Linked DNA regions of Homo sapiens: region 1 is linked to region 2. Evidence: promoter capture Hi-C in 16 types of primary human blood cells and fetal thymus (Javierre and others, 2016). All regions are on one chromosome and are shown on one strand. The core of a region is centred on a gene start or on the middle of the fragment in contact, and the rest is flanking DNA. Distances in the headings are between cores, read along the strand shown. Region 1 overlaps EEPD1 (endonuclease/exonuclease/phosphatase family domain containing 1). Region 2 holds the start of EEPD1 (endonuclease/exonuclease/phosphatase family domain containing 1).

The links. Contacts are between HindIII fragments. The CHiCAGO score rates a contact against its expected background, and 5 or more counts as called.
Region 1: a contact is called between a fragment that was not itself captured here and the fragment with the promoter of EEPD1 in region 2, in 1 of 17 cell types (monocytes). The highest score is 5.6, in monocytes.

The regions. Positions count from the first base shown.
Region 1 is chr7:36,217,054-36,223,035 of GRCh38, reverse strand. The region is part of intron 2 of EEPD1 (endonuclease/exonuclease/phosphatase family domain containing 1); the gene reads right to left. Among named protein-coding and RNA genes, the nearest start is that of EEPD1, 67 kb to the right of the region's middle. The HindIII fragment of the contact is 2,748 bases long and covers 1,366-4,113 here.
Region 2 is chr7:36,151,018-36,157,350 of GRCh38, reverse strand. It overlaps EEPD1 (endonuclease/exonuclease/phosphatase family domain containing 1), which reads right to left and starts at 4,097. Exons shown (of 8, transcript NM_030636.3): 1 at 3,677-4,097; 2 at 2,149-3,218. The coding sequence starts at 3,026. RefSeq lists a silencer at 3,966-4,685. The HindIII fragment of the contact is 12,213 bases long and covers 1-6,333 here.

The sequences.
Region 1 (5,982 bases), core at 1,490-3,989, 67 kb before region 2:
GGGATTACAGGCACCCGCCACCACGCCTGCCTAATTTTTGTATTTTTAGTAGAGATGGGGTTTTGCCATGTTGGCCAGGCTGGTCTCGAACTCCTGACCTCAAGCGATCTGCCTGCCTTGGCCTCCCAAAGTGCTGGGATTACAGGCGTGAGCCACCTGTGTTGAAATTTAATGACCAGTGTGATGGCATTAGGAGGTGAGGCCTTTGGGAGGTGATTAGGACATGAGGGTTTAGTGACTTTATAAAAGAGGCACGAAGAGAGCTGCTTTGCTCCTTCCACCAAGTGGGGACCCCGCTAGAAGATGCCATCTATGAACTAGGAAATGGGCCCTTGCCAGACACTGAATTAGCCGGTGCCTTGATCTTAGACTCGCCAGCCTCCAGACTGTAAGAAATAAATGTCTTTTGTTTATAAATCACCCAGTATATAGTATTTTGTTATTGTACTCCAAAAACACTGAGACAGGAAGGATCTGCAACAAACATTATATAATTATCACATAATTATATAATGTGCAATATTTCTGTTATATATACAGTTCACCCTTGAACAATACAGGTTTGAATTGTGCGGGTCTACTTACAGGTGGATTTTCTTCTGCCTCTGCCACCCTGAGATAACAAGACCAACCCCTCCTCTTCCTTGTCCTCCTCAGCCTACTCAAAACATGGAGATGATAAAGATGAAGACCTTTATGATAATCCACTACACTTAATGACTAGTAAACATATGTTCTCTTCCTTATGATTCTCTTAATACCATTTTCTTTTCCTTAGTTTACTTTATTTGTAAGAATACAACATACAGTACATATGACATACAAAATACTTGTTAATTGACTATCAGGTTATCAGTAAGGCTTCTGGTCAACAGTAGGCTGGTAGTACTTATGTTTTGGGGGAGTCAAAAGTTCTATGTGAATTTTCAATTTTGCAGGGGAGGGCGGGTTGGCTCCCCTAACCCCCATGTTGTTCAAGGGTTAACGATCCTGAATACAATATAAAATAAATGCCACTATATAATGTGTCTAGTGATGATAAATGTATTAAAAATAAAGCCAGGTAAGGGAGTATGAGTGACAGGGAGCACAGGTACATGTGTGGCCAGTGTGCTGTGGGGGGGACACAGAGGACCTGTCCCATAAAAAGGCATTTGATCAGAGATTGGATTTTCTCATCTGTAAAATCAGGATAATGACTGCAGCTATTTAGAAAATCATTGAAATGGCATTTATTACAATATATTGCTTCTAGTATATAATAGGTACACCATAAATGACAGTTATTATATTTATCTGAATTGAAATGGACATGACCTCATACATGATTCTTACCTTTTTTAGAACTGATCAGAATATAAAGCTTTCATTCCTCAAAATCACACTGGTATTCTAGCCACTTAAAAAAACAGGATCTAAATGATTGACCCACAACCTGAAAATGTTCCTGTTACGGTGGAATTGCTGAGTTCAGATTTTATGGTGCCAGGCTGGTATATGCAGTCCTGCAGTGTCCCTGTTATTATTATTAAATAATCTGATTACATTCTTTAACAGTTAGCACTTTAATTCCAGATCAATCCAGGCTCATCCTTCTTAAAGAAGTACAAAGAATATTATAACTTTTCTGGAGCTGAGTATACAAAACAGTTTTGCTCTCCATCTTCTAAAGCTAAAAGTAAAAAGATACACAGATAATAAGCAAAACACATACCATAGAGCTGGCTCTTAAATACTTTCAAAGCTGTAACATTCATTCAAAATGCAAGTTTATTAAAAGATGATACGGAACAGAGCTCCAAAAGATAAGGTTGTATAAAATGTTGAAAAGAAATTACATATTAGGTTATTTTAAACTGAAGGATGAAACTCTTCCCTCAAACTGAGAAAAATTACTACCTTGATAATTTACAAATTCAGTGTAGTTGGCTGGACGCAGTGGCTCACGCCTGTAATCTAAACACTTTGGGACGCTGAGGCAGGCTGATCATTTCAGGCGAGGAGTTCTGGACCAGCTTGACCAACATGGTGAAACCCTGTCTCTAATAAAATACAAAAATTAGCCAGGTGTGGTGGTGTGTGGTGGTGGGCACCTATAATCCGAGCTACTCAGGAGGCTGAGGCTGGAGAATCACTTGAACCCAGGAGGTGGAGGTTGCAGTGAGCCGAGATTGCACCACTGCATTCTAGCCTGGGCACCAGAGCGAGACTCCATCTCAAAAAAACAAAACAAAACAAAACAAAAACCGAATTCAGTGTAGTTATAAGTTTGTTATGGGCAGAGGGTGAAAGGAGAAGGACAAAGCATTTTTCAATACCATCTGACACACTCTGAACCACAGACATCAGAGACATTTTCATGTTCTCTGCAGGATATGAGATGGAGTCGATGCCATTAGCTCTGCTCTAGAGATGAGGACAACGGGGCCAAATGAATAGAAAGAGCAAAGTGCCATTTGCCACTGGAGCTCAGGGCTTCTACAGGTACCTCTTTCTTTCATCCCAAACTTCCTCCCCAGTGTCACATCCAATTGGCAAGAGATGAAGCTATGGAACTTCCATGAGGTTCTTTTTGGTTATTCTTAATCCACGTGGTTATGATGATACAAGTCCAGATGTCTTCAAAGCAAGGAGGGCTCTCTGACTGGTACCATTCACCTCCCTAACCCAAGTGAATTGGGGACTTCTCCTTGGAACTTGAGCCTTTCCCTTCCCCCTTAAGTTTTTCAACATGCTTTCACCCAAGAAGGAGCCATCTGCTCAATAAAATCAGAAAATGCTGCAAACATCATCTGAAGGTATTTGTTCCTTCAGGAAAAAGTCATTTTTACCGCCCTTCTTCCCAATTGTTCTTCCTGAATTGTTCTTTGATTATTTCTTGGCTTTCACTGGAGGAAGCATGAGAAACAACAAGATCAAACTAGTTTTCTGCATCTACTGTGGGGACAGCATCCCCATCCTCCACGACCTCACCTGGTAGCAGAGGGGACTCTAGCTGGGCCTGTTCCCTTCTGTACTTCCATTTTCCTGTGCTCTTCTTCCCGCAACCTGCTCAGGCCATGTGGGATGGACTTCCAGGGGCCAATCATGTCTGATTTTCCTACCTTTCCTTTCCATTCACTAGCTTCCCCTCAAATACTGTAATCTTTCATGTTTTATATATCTCTTTATGTGTATCCAAGCCTGTGAGAATGAACACACACACACACACACACACACACACACACACTCTCTCTCTCTCTCTCTCTCTCTCTCTCTCTTTCTCTCTCTCTCTTTAAATGCATGCTGGCCAACTATCAGGCCAGTAATTAGGGGATTGGGCTGTTTTTGGTCCCCACTTCTTTCTTCTTCTTTCCTTCTTTCCTTCTTTCCTTCCTTCCTCTTCCTCCTTCTTCTTTTCTTTCCTTCTTTCCTTCTTTCCTTCCTTCCTCTTCCTCCTTCTTCTTCTTTTCTTCTTTCCTTCTCTCTCCCCTCCCTTCCCCTCTCCTTCCTTCCTTTCCTTCCTTTCCTTTCTTTCCTTCCTTCCTTCCTTCTTTGAAATAGGGTCTTGCTAAGTTGCTCAGGCTGGTTTCAAACTCAAGCAATCCTCTTGCCTCGGCCTCCCAAAGTGCTGGGATTACAGGTGTACACCACCACACCCAGCCAGGTCCCCACCTTTTGTATTTTGGAATTCATAGGAGATTCCTTGTTACTTGATTTTTTTTTTCCTGTAAAATGACCACGAGTTTAGGCTTTGCCATCTAGTTGCTCTTTTGTTCCTAACGTTTAAATTTTGAATTTTTTAAATCTACAAGAAAGTTTAGGGCACTATATGGTGAAGACTCATAGACACACTGCCTACATTCCACAATTAGCATTATCATTATCACACATCTGCCCACCCAATCAGACATCGATCCATCTTATTTTCTAAGATGGATTTCAAAGTATGTTACAATCCAATGATTTGGTTTTTGATATTTCCCACAAAGGAAAAATAATTTCTCTTATTTTCTGCAGGGAACTTCCTACAGACTTCCAGATACCAACCCGAAACCCCACTTTCTTGCTCTACCTAAACCCAGTATTAACACTTCTCCTCCAGGCCTTTCTCCTAGGCTCCAGCCTTAAGCTTTTATTAACCAAATTCCCTCCTCATCTGGACAAAATCGCCATTCTCCTTCCCACCAGCCTACTTCTCTTCCACCTTCTAATGTTCCCATCCTAAGCTTGTCAAGCCACCATAACATGCCTATTTCTAAGGCCCAACTTTACATTTGATCACATATTTTTAGCAAAAAGAGGGTGATATTTTCACATAGTACAGCAGTCACCCCATATCTGCAGTTTCACTTTTTTATGGTTTCAGTGACCCACAGTCAATCACAGTCCAAAAATATTAAATGGAAAATTCTGGAAATATACAATTCACAATCTCACACTGCACCGCTGTGTCTCACCAGGGATGTGAACCCTCCCTTTGCTCAGCGTCTTCATCTGCAGATGCTTCCCATCCTTTAGACACTTAGCAGCCTTCCTATTATCTCACATCAGCACAAGAAGAAGGGTGAGTCTGTACAGTATAAGGTGTTTTGAGAAAGAGAGAGACCACATTCACATAAATTTTATTACAGTCTATTGTTATAATTTTTTTTTTAGTTTTTTCCTCCTCTTCCTCCCCCTCCTATTAGAATTTTTCTATTTTATTATTATTGTTGTTAATCTCTTTCTGTGCCTAATTTATAAGTTAAACTTTACCATAGGTATGTATGGATAGGAAAAAACAGTATATAGGGTTTGGCACATCTGAAGTCTTGGAAGATAACCTCCGAGGACAAGGGGGACTACTGTATTCAGTATAAATGAGCCCCCCTCGTGCACTTGAAAATAGAATGATACTGGCTCTGCCCTGGGCCCCTAGGGACCGTTACGCAGTTCTTAATAACAATCAGAGTATCGTTTCTGCCCAGCCAGGCTTACTGCTGCTGTTCTCAACCACTCATTGCCACCATCTTAAGAACTTCTTGTTTCATTTCTCTAGGAAAGAGTAAGAGTGATTAACTGAACACACAAGAGAAAAAGAAATTTCTGCTTTCAGAGCATACTGAAAATTAGAAAGTTAGCTAACACAATACAGGGTCTGTGATTGCAAATTAATACTCCAGCCAAAATTCCTCCTTTGGCATTCACTGCTGACCTTTCACCTCTTAGCAAGGTTTCTCTTCCTTTTAGGCCAGGTGAAATTCACCTCTGGGTTTTGTTAGAGCCCATGGCCTCTCTAATCAGTAAAAAGCAATCCCCCCTCTCTCCCTGTAACACAAACCAGCCAGTTAGGTTCTCTGGGCAGGGAGTTGTTTACAATAGCAATTATAAGAGCACATTTCACAGGAATCTTTTGGTTATTTGTTTTAAAAGTTATCAGAGGCATTTGAACCAGAACAACTCCATCTTGAATAGGGGCTGGGTAAAATAAGGCTGAGACCTACTAGGCTGTATTCCCAGGAGGTTAGGCATTCTAAGTCACAGGATAAGATAGGAGGTTGCCCCAAGATACAGGTCATGAAGACCTTGCTGATAAAAGAGGCTGCAGTAAAGAAGCTGGCCCAACCCTACCAAAACCAAGATGGTGATGAAAGTGACCGCGGGTCATCCTCACTACTCGTTACACACTAATTATAATGCATTAGCATGCTAAAAGACACTCTCGCCAGTGCCATGACAGTTTGTAAGTGACAGTTTATAGGAAGTTACCCTACATGGTCTAAAAAGGGGAGGTACCCTCAGTTCCAGGAATTGCCCACCTCTTTCCCTGAAAACTCATGAAAAATCCTCCCCTTGTTTAGCACATAATCAAGAAATAACCATAAATATGGGCAACCAGTGGCCCATGCCGCTGCTCTGCCTATGGAGTAGCCATTCTTTATTCCTTTACTTTCCTAACAAACTTGTTTTCACTTTACTCCATGGACTTGCCCCAAATTCTTTCTTGTGCAAGATCCAAGA
Region 2 (6,333 bases), core at 2,848-5,347:
ATAGGTCCTAGAAGATGAATAAGCTCCTCAACGCTTGGTCAGAAAGAATATCACAAGGTTGAATAATTATAAGGATGATCAAAACAATCAAAGGGGAAAATAAAAATGACAGTTGTACCTTGGTATCTGCAGAGATTGATTCCAGGAGCCCCTGTGATACCAAAATCCATGATGCTCAAGTCCCTGATATAAAATGGCATATTATTTACATATAACCTATGCACATCCTCCAGTATATTTTAATTCATCTTTAGATTACTTAGAATGCCTAATACAATGTAAATGTTATGTAAATAGTTACCATACTGGATTGTTTAGGGAATGACAAGAAAAAACTCGACATGTTCAGTATAGACACAACTTTTTTTTTTCCTGAATATTTTCCATCTACAGTTGGTTGAATCCATGGATGTGGAACCCACAGGTATGGAGGGCCGACTAGACCTGGAAAGTTCTGCATGAATTCACTAACCCTGCCAGAGGAAGGGGCTTCCAAGAGACAGAGGGACAGCTGATTGCCTAACACCTAGTACAATGGTTCTCAAACTTTAGTGTGCATCAGAACCACCTGGAGGGTGTGTTAAAACACAGAAACAAAGTTTCTGAGTCAGTAGCTGATGTTGCTGGTCCCCAGGGGGGACCACACTTTAGAAACCACTGACATAATAAATAGGCAGGGGCTGCCTGGTTGGTCAGTCCCACTGGACCAACTTTTGATCCTAATCCATCACCCCCCTCCCAAATTGAGCCACTAGAAAGCATAATAGGAATTAAGCAGCTTTGTCTTTCCTGCCTCTCCCCTCCTCATTTCCCATTCACACGCCCATGCTGCTATGGATAAAGAGAACAATTATCAAGCCATTCTTTATAAATATCTCCCGGTGCCGAGTACAGCTCTCACCTGTGCACAAGAAGACTTTGCAGAAGGAGTGAGTTAGGCTGCAAAAGAGAGGACACAGCAGTGCAGGGAGAGCATTCAAGGGCTCCCCAGTCCAGTTCCCTGACCCAGTGTGGAGTCCCTCTCTCAGTGATGAGAGCATGCCACTGGGTCAGTGCCAAGGAAACGTTGTGACCTGCTTTTCTCCTCACTAATTTTCCTGGTGATCTGCCATCATGCACTGTGATTTCCCGCTGAGAGTTCACTTCGTGTCACCAAACTGCTGCCCCCCCGCCGCCAGCCTCACCAACAACTCAGTGCAAAGGAAATCAACGAGTAGCCACAAACACTGCACCCCTGGTGGGTGGCAGGGCAAAACGCCTCAAGTCCAGGATCACAGCTCTTATGACCTGGAAGGGACCATCACAAATATTTCTTTCTTTCCCACACCTGATTACATTATACAGTTTGCTATTTTACTAACAGCAGGAGTTACTGCCAAAATAATATTGTTTTTGTTTATGACGAGGCTAACAGAAATTCCTACAGAGAGCAGTATTGTGAATAACATAAACGCTCTGTGGTAACGGCCTATCCTACTGGACTCTTTTCTTTGGTTTAAATGGGGAAAATCCGGCCAATTTTCACACACACACGTCAGCTTGCTTTTTTCTGGCTATGGCACAGAAAAGGTTACACACATTTTGGGCTACAATTTTAGGGCTGAAAACCAACTCCAGGTTAAATAAGGAAAAAGAATGGAGAGTGATTCATTCATAGCATTTTGGTAAATATAGACACTTGTATGTGTTTGCAAATACTTGGCCTTTAAGATGATTTTGTGTGCACAAATAGGCATATTTGATGGAACAAATATGATTTTCCCTCCCATTAATAAACAAAATCCAATGAGCTCTTTCTCACATGCGAAACTGCACCAGTTCCCATGCTCTGAGTGCCTGACTTGGTGTAGACCCAGCATCCTCCAAAGCAGTAACAAAAACACAACCTCTGCTTACCCCAAAATTATGAATCAGTCTCAGATATCTCACACTCAAGACATGGGTCACAAGCCCAGCTGTATTCAGAAAATTCTGGAGCAGAAGGACAGCCCATTCTCAGGTGACGGTATTGGCTGAGGCTTCAAGAACATTGATTAAAAACTCTTGCACCCTCCCTACCCGCAAAAGAATCCATTCATTTGCATCCATAGATGAGGTCACGCACAAGTTGCCTTCACACCCAACACCCATGGTGGTTCCTGTCCTCACCTGTTTTCCAGGAGTGTCATGCACACCACCTCTCGCACCCCGGGGTTGTTGGCCTTCTCCACGGAACAGCCCTGCAAGTTCCAGGTGGCCAGCCTCAGCACAGGCCTCCCATCCCTTGTGCCTCCAAAGGCCTCCACGGACGGCCGAGTGGAGATAATCTGGGTGGGCCCCCCTGGCGGCAGGTCCAGGTCCTCACTCTGCAGGCTCAGGGAAGTGGGGCTCGGGTGAGGCTTGGCGGTGAAGGTCAGTCCCCCGTTCGTGTGGGTGGATGGGGGCCTGGACCTCTCAGCAAACACCTGGTGCCGGATCCTGTCCAGGAAGGCGGCATTGATACCATCCATCCTCACTAGGTCCTCAACGCTGCGAAAGGGCCCATGCTCACGGCGGAAGTCCACGATGCTGAGGGCCATTTTCTCCGAGAGGCCTCGCACGCTCATGAGCTGGGCCGGGGTGGCTGTGTTGATGTTAACACGTGGGGTGAGGGGCACAGCTGTGGCCAGGTGGTGAGGCTGCTGCTCCGCTAGCAGGTCCCGCCGCAGGGAACTGGGAGAGTGCTGCGCTGAGCTGCCCTTGCTGCTCACACAGATCTCAAACTTGACCTGCTCCAGCTTGGTGGCGCCTACACCACTGACCAATGCCAGGTCCTCCACCTTCTTGAAGCCACCGATATACTCTCGGTACTCCACGATGCTGCGTGCCACGGCACGCGTCACCCCAGGCAGGGTCATCAGCTCCTCCTCCGTGGCAGTGTTGATGTTGAGCCGCTCCTGATTCACTAGAATGTTGCTGAAGTTACAGGCTGCGCTGAACTTGCGGCTATGGGACAGGTCCGAGGGGTCCCTGGGGATGGAGCGGTGGCAGCCCAGGGTGCTCCCCATGGTCCGCCAGGATCAGGCTCCCGGGAAGGCCGCACCACTGCAGAAGAGCTCTCTGGCTAGGGAGGAAGCCCAGTAGGCCGTACAAGCACAGAAAAACGGAAGGTGCAGGATTCAGGGACTGAAGAGGTTACTATAGACAAACACCGAATCTTCCATGCCTGGCGTGTCCAAAATTACCTTTCACTTGGCCGCCTAGAAAATAAATCAATAAACATAGAAACCCATTGAATTAAGAAATTTGCATTAGCACCCCCTACCTAGTGCTAGAGTTAGTAACCAGGAGTCGGGGACTGGTGGCTGCCCGTGAACCCCTAAAAACGCAGGCACAATGAGGCTAGGCCCATGTGGATTCTCCTCTAGGGACGTCCGGGTTTTATCACACTGGAGTCCAAAAAGGCTACGAGCCGCTTCTCTTGGGAAGAGACCTATCCCCATCAGCCTCATGCCTCTCCTCCAGGCCTCTCTCAACTCTGACACTTGGGTCACCCACACTTGGGCTCGCGCAGACGGGGTGGCCACTCCACCTCCCCCACGCTCCGCATCTGACACAGCGCTACCTGCAACCTGGGAAGTCCGTGCTCCCCGGAGCGGGCACTGAGAAGGGGCTTATCGACCCCCCACCCGACCTGCCGCGGGTCCCCGCGCCCCACCTCTCGGCCGCTCTGCGGGGCGCCGGTTCCTCTTCCACCTGCGGCTCGGAAGCCTGAGCCCAGCCCGGGACAGCACGGGCCCCCTGCCTCCAGCCTAGGCGTCCGCGCGGGTGTGGGTCACTGGTCAGGCCCTGGAAGCCGACTACGCCGCTTCGGTCTGCGTGTCCCGGCTCTTTCTATGGGAGAAACTTAGCATCGCTCTCCCAGAGTGAATAGAAGCCGCAGGGCTGCTCGGAGGCGGCGGCAGCGGCGGCGAAACCCGCCGCCGAGGCTGCACCGGGGCTTGCGGCGGCGCCGCCGCAGTTGCGTTTACCCCGGCAAAAAGTCCTGCGCCCAACTCGGGCGGGGATCCGCCAGAGCCAGTCCAGACCCAGCACCAGCCGCACGGCTCCCGCTCGCAGTCGGTGTCAAAGCCAAAGTCCCGGCCGCGCCGCGCCGCGCCGCTCGCGCCTCCGCAGGCACCGCGGCCACGCCTCCTCCGCGCGGCAACTCCTCCCCGGGACTCCCGAGGGCACGTGGGGGAGGGGCCCTGGCGCGGGGCGAGGCCTGGCACCAGTGGGTGGAGAGAGGAACCCGAGAGCGCAAGGGCGGGCCTGGAGTGGGAGAGGCGGGGCCATGGAAGAGGGGGCGGCATCAAGGCTCAAGAGGGTGGAGAACGAACCAGAGAGCGCGAGGGGAGGCCCTGGCGTGCGAGAGGAGGAGCCATGGGTGTGGGGGCGTGGCCTGGCACAAATGGGTGGAGAGCAGAACCCTGGAGCGCGTGGGGCGGGCCTGGAGTGCGAGAGGCGGGGTCATAGAGTGTGGGAGCGGGGCCAGGGCGCGATGGGGTAGGAAAAGCGGGGGCGGGGCCATGAGCGCGGGGGTAGGCCCCGGGAGCGCAGAGGCGGGACTTAGGGGGCTTAAGGGGCGGAGCCGGCGCCGTGCCGGCGAGGGCGGGTCACAGGGAGGCTGTCCTAAGTCAGCTGCCCCCGGACCATGGTTGCCGCCCGGGGCCTAGGACTGGTTGTGCCTGGTAGAGGCTGTTTAGGATTGCCCGAGGCGAGATCTGCTCAGCTGCTTTTCGTCTGTCTTTGAGGTGTGGGGATGAAGGCCGGGGCAGTCCCTGAGAGTGCATCGCTGTAGGTCCAGGGTCTCACGGAATTTTGCAGAACGTTCCAGAGGAGACTGAATGGGATCGTCTTAATTTCTGTCCCCACTTTCGGCCTTTTCTTTTCTTCCACCAGTGTATTACCTTTGCTCCGCTCAGAGAGATGTCCTCTAATAACGCCAGCGACGCATTGTGCTCCTAGCAGAGGGCACGCACCACCCTCCTGTGTGTTCGCATAGGTCAAATACAGGTTTGCTCCTTTGCACATTTAGCGCTGTGAGTAAACAAGGATAAGTTTTTGTAATATTAAGTCTAATCATTACGAAGGAGGGAAATGGGGGCTGCTTCCCAAAACCCAGAAGAGTTTTTGCATCACACTGCTAAATGACAATTTGGTTAAAGATTAAAGAGCCCTCTGCATTATAGTGGATACCTAGAGCTAGAGTATTCGATTAAGCAAATCATGCGGTGATATCGTTGAATACTTTGACCCTGGACGTTTAGTGTTCTCTGAAGTTTCATCCCCAACCAATGTGACCAGTGCATCTGGTTTCAATTCCAAGGACTGGGTCAGCAAAAATAGTACCTCTCACAGGCGGAAGGTACTTTGGTTGTAAAATTAGCGGCAGCCCAAGTTTGGAAAATGCTACTGCCTTTCTGAGGCACATTCCCCTGCTATGTATATTGGTCAGAAAACCAAGTCAAACTAGCTTAGACCAAAAAAAAAAAAAAAAAGGTCGGGGGGAAATTTTTGGTTCCTTGTTGAAAAGTTAAGGTAAGGAATCTTACCTCAAGTCTGGTTGCATCCGACCCAAGTGATGATGGGGTCATTAGGACATGGCAGGACTGCCTCCATCTCTGGCTCCACGGTTCTCTTTATTGGCTTTATTTTTAGGCAAGCTATTTGCACTTGATCGCAAAAATGCCTTGCTACCTACCATCATCTCCCACCCAAACACTGGGCTACATTATGCCACGCACTGAAATCCTGGTGCGGTAAGGAAAAAACAGTTTAAGACAAGCAGGAAAACAGAGAAAACTCTTCGTTGAGCAGAATGCCTTGATGCGCAACGTGGCTGTGGAAGCACAGCCGTGGAGCGTGGCTACTTGGGCTGGAAGCAGAGAAAACATATTTTATCATACAAACCAGGACACTCTGGAGGTGAAGAGAGGACTCTATTAATAATATCCTAGAACAACAGAAATAATCTGGTTTTATTCCCCATAAACCTAGCAAATGCTCCCCTTGGTATAAATGAAACCAAGCGTTGGCCAAACCAAAGTGCATTTAAAAACACACATACATACACCCCACAAAAACATGCAATGAGATGGTTAACTTTAAAACGACTGATTGTATCCAATGTTGGTGAGGACGCAGAGCAATTGAAATGGTCATACATTGCTGGTGGAGGTGTAAGATGGCACCACTACTTTGGAAATCAGTTTGGAAGTTTCCTAAGAAGTTAAACGTATACTTACCATATGACTCAACCAATCTACTTATAGGTATTTACCAAAGAAAAAGGAAAACATGAAACCCAGAGACTTGAATGTGGATGTTCATAGG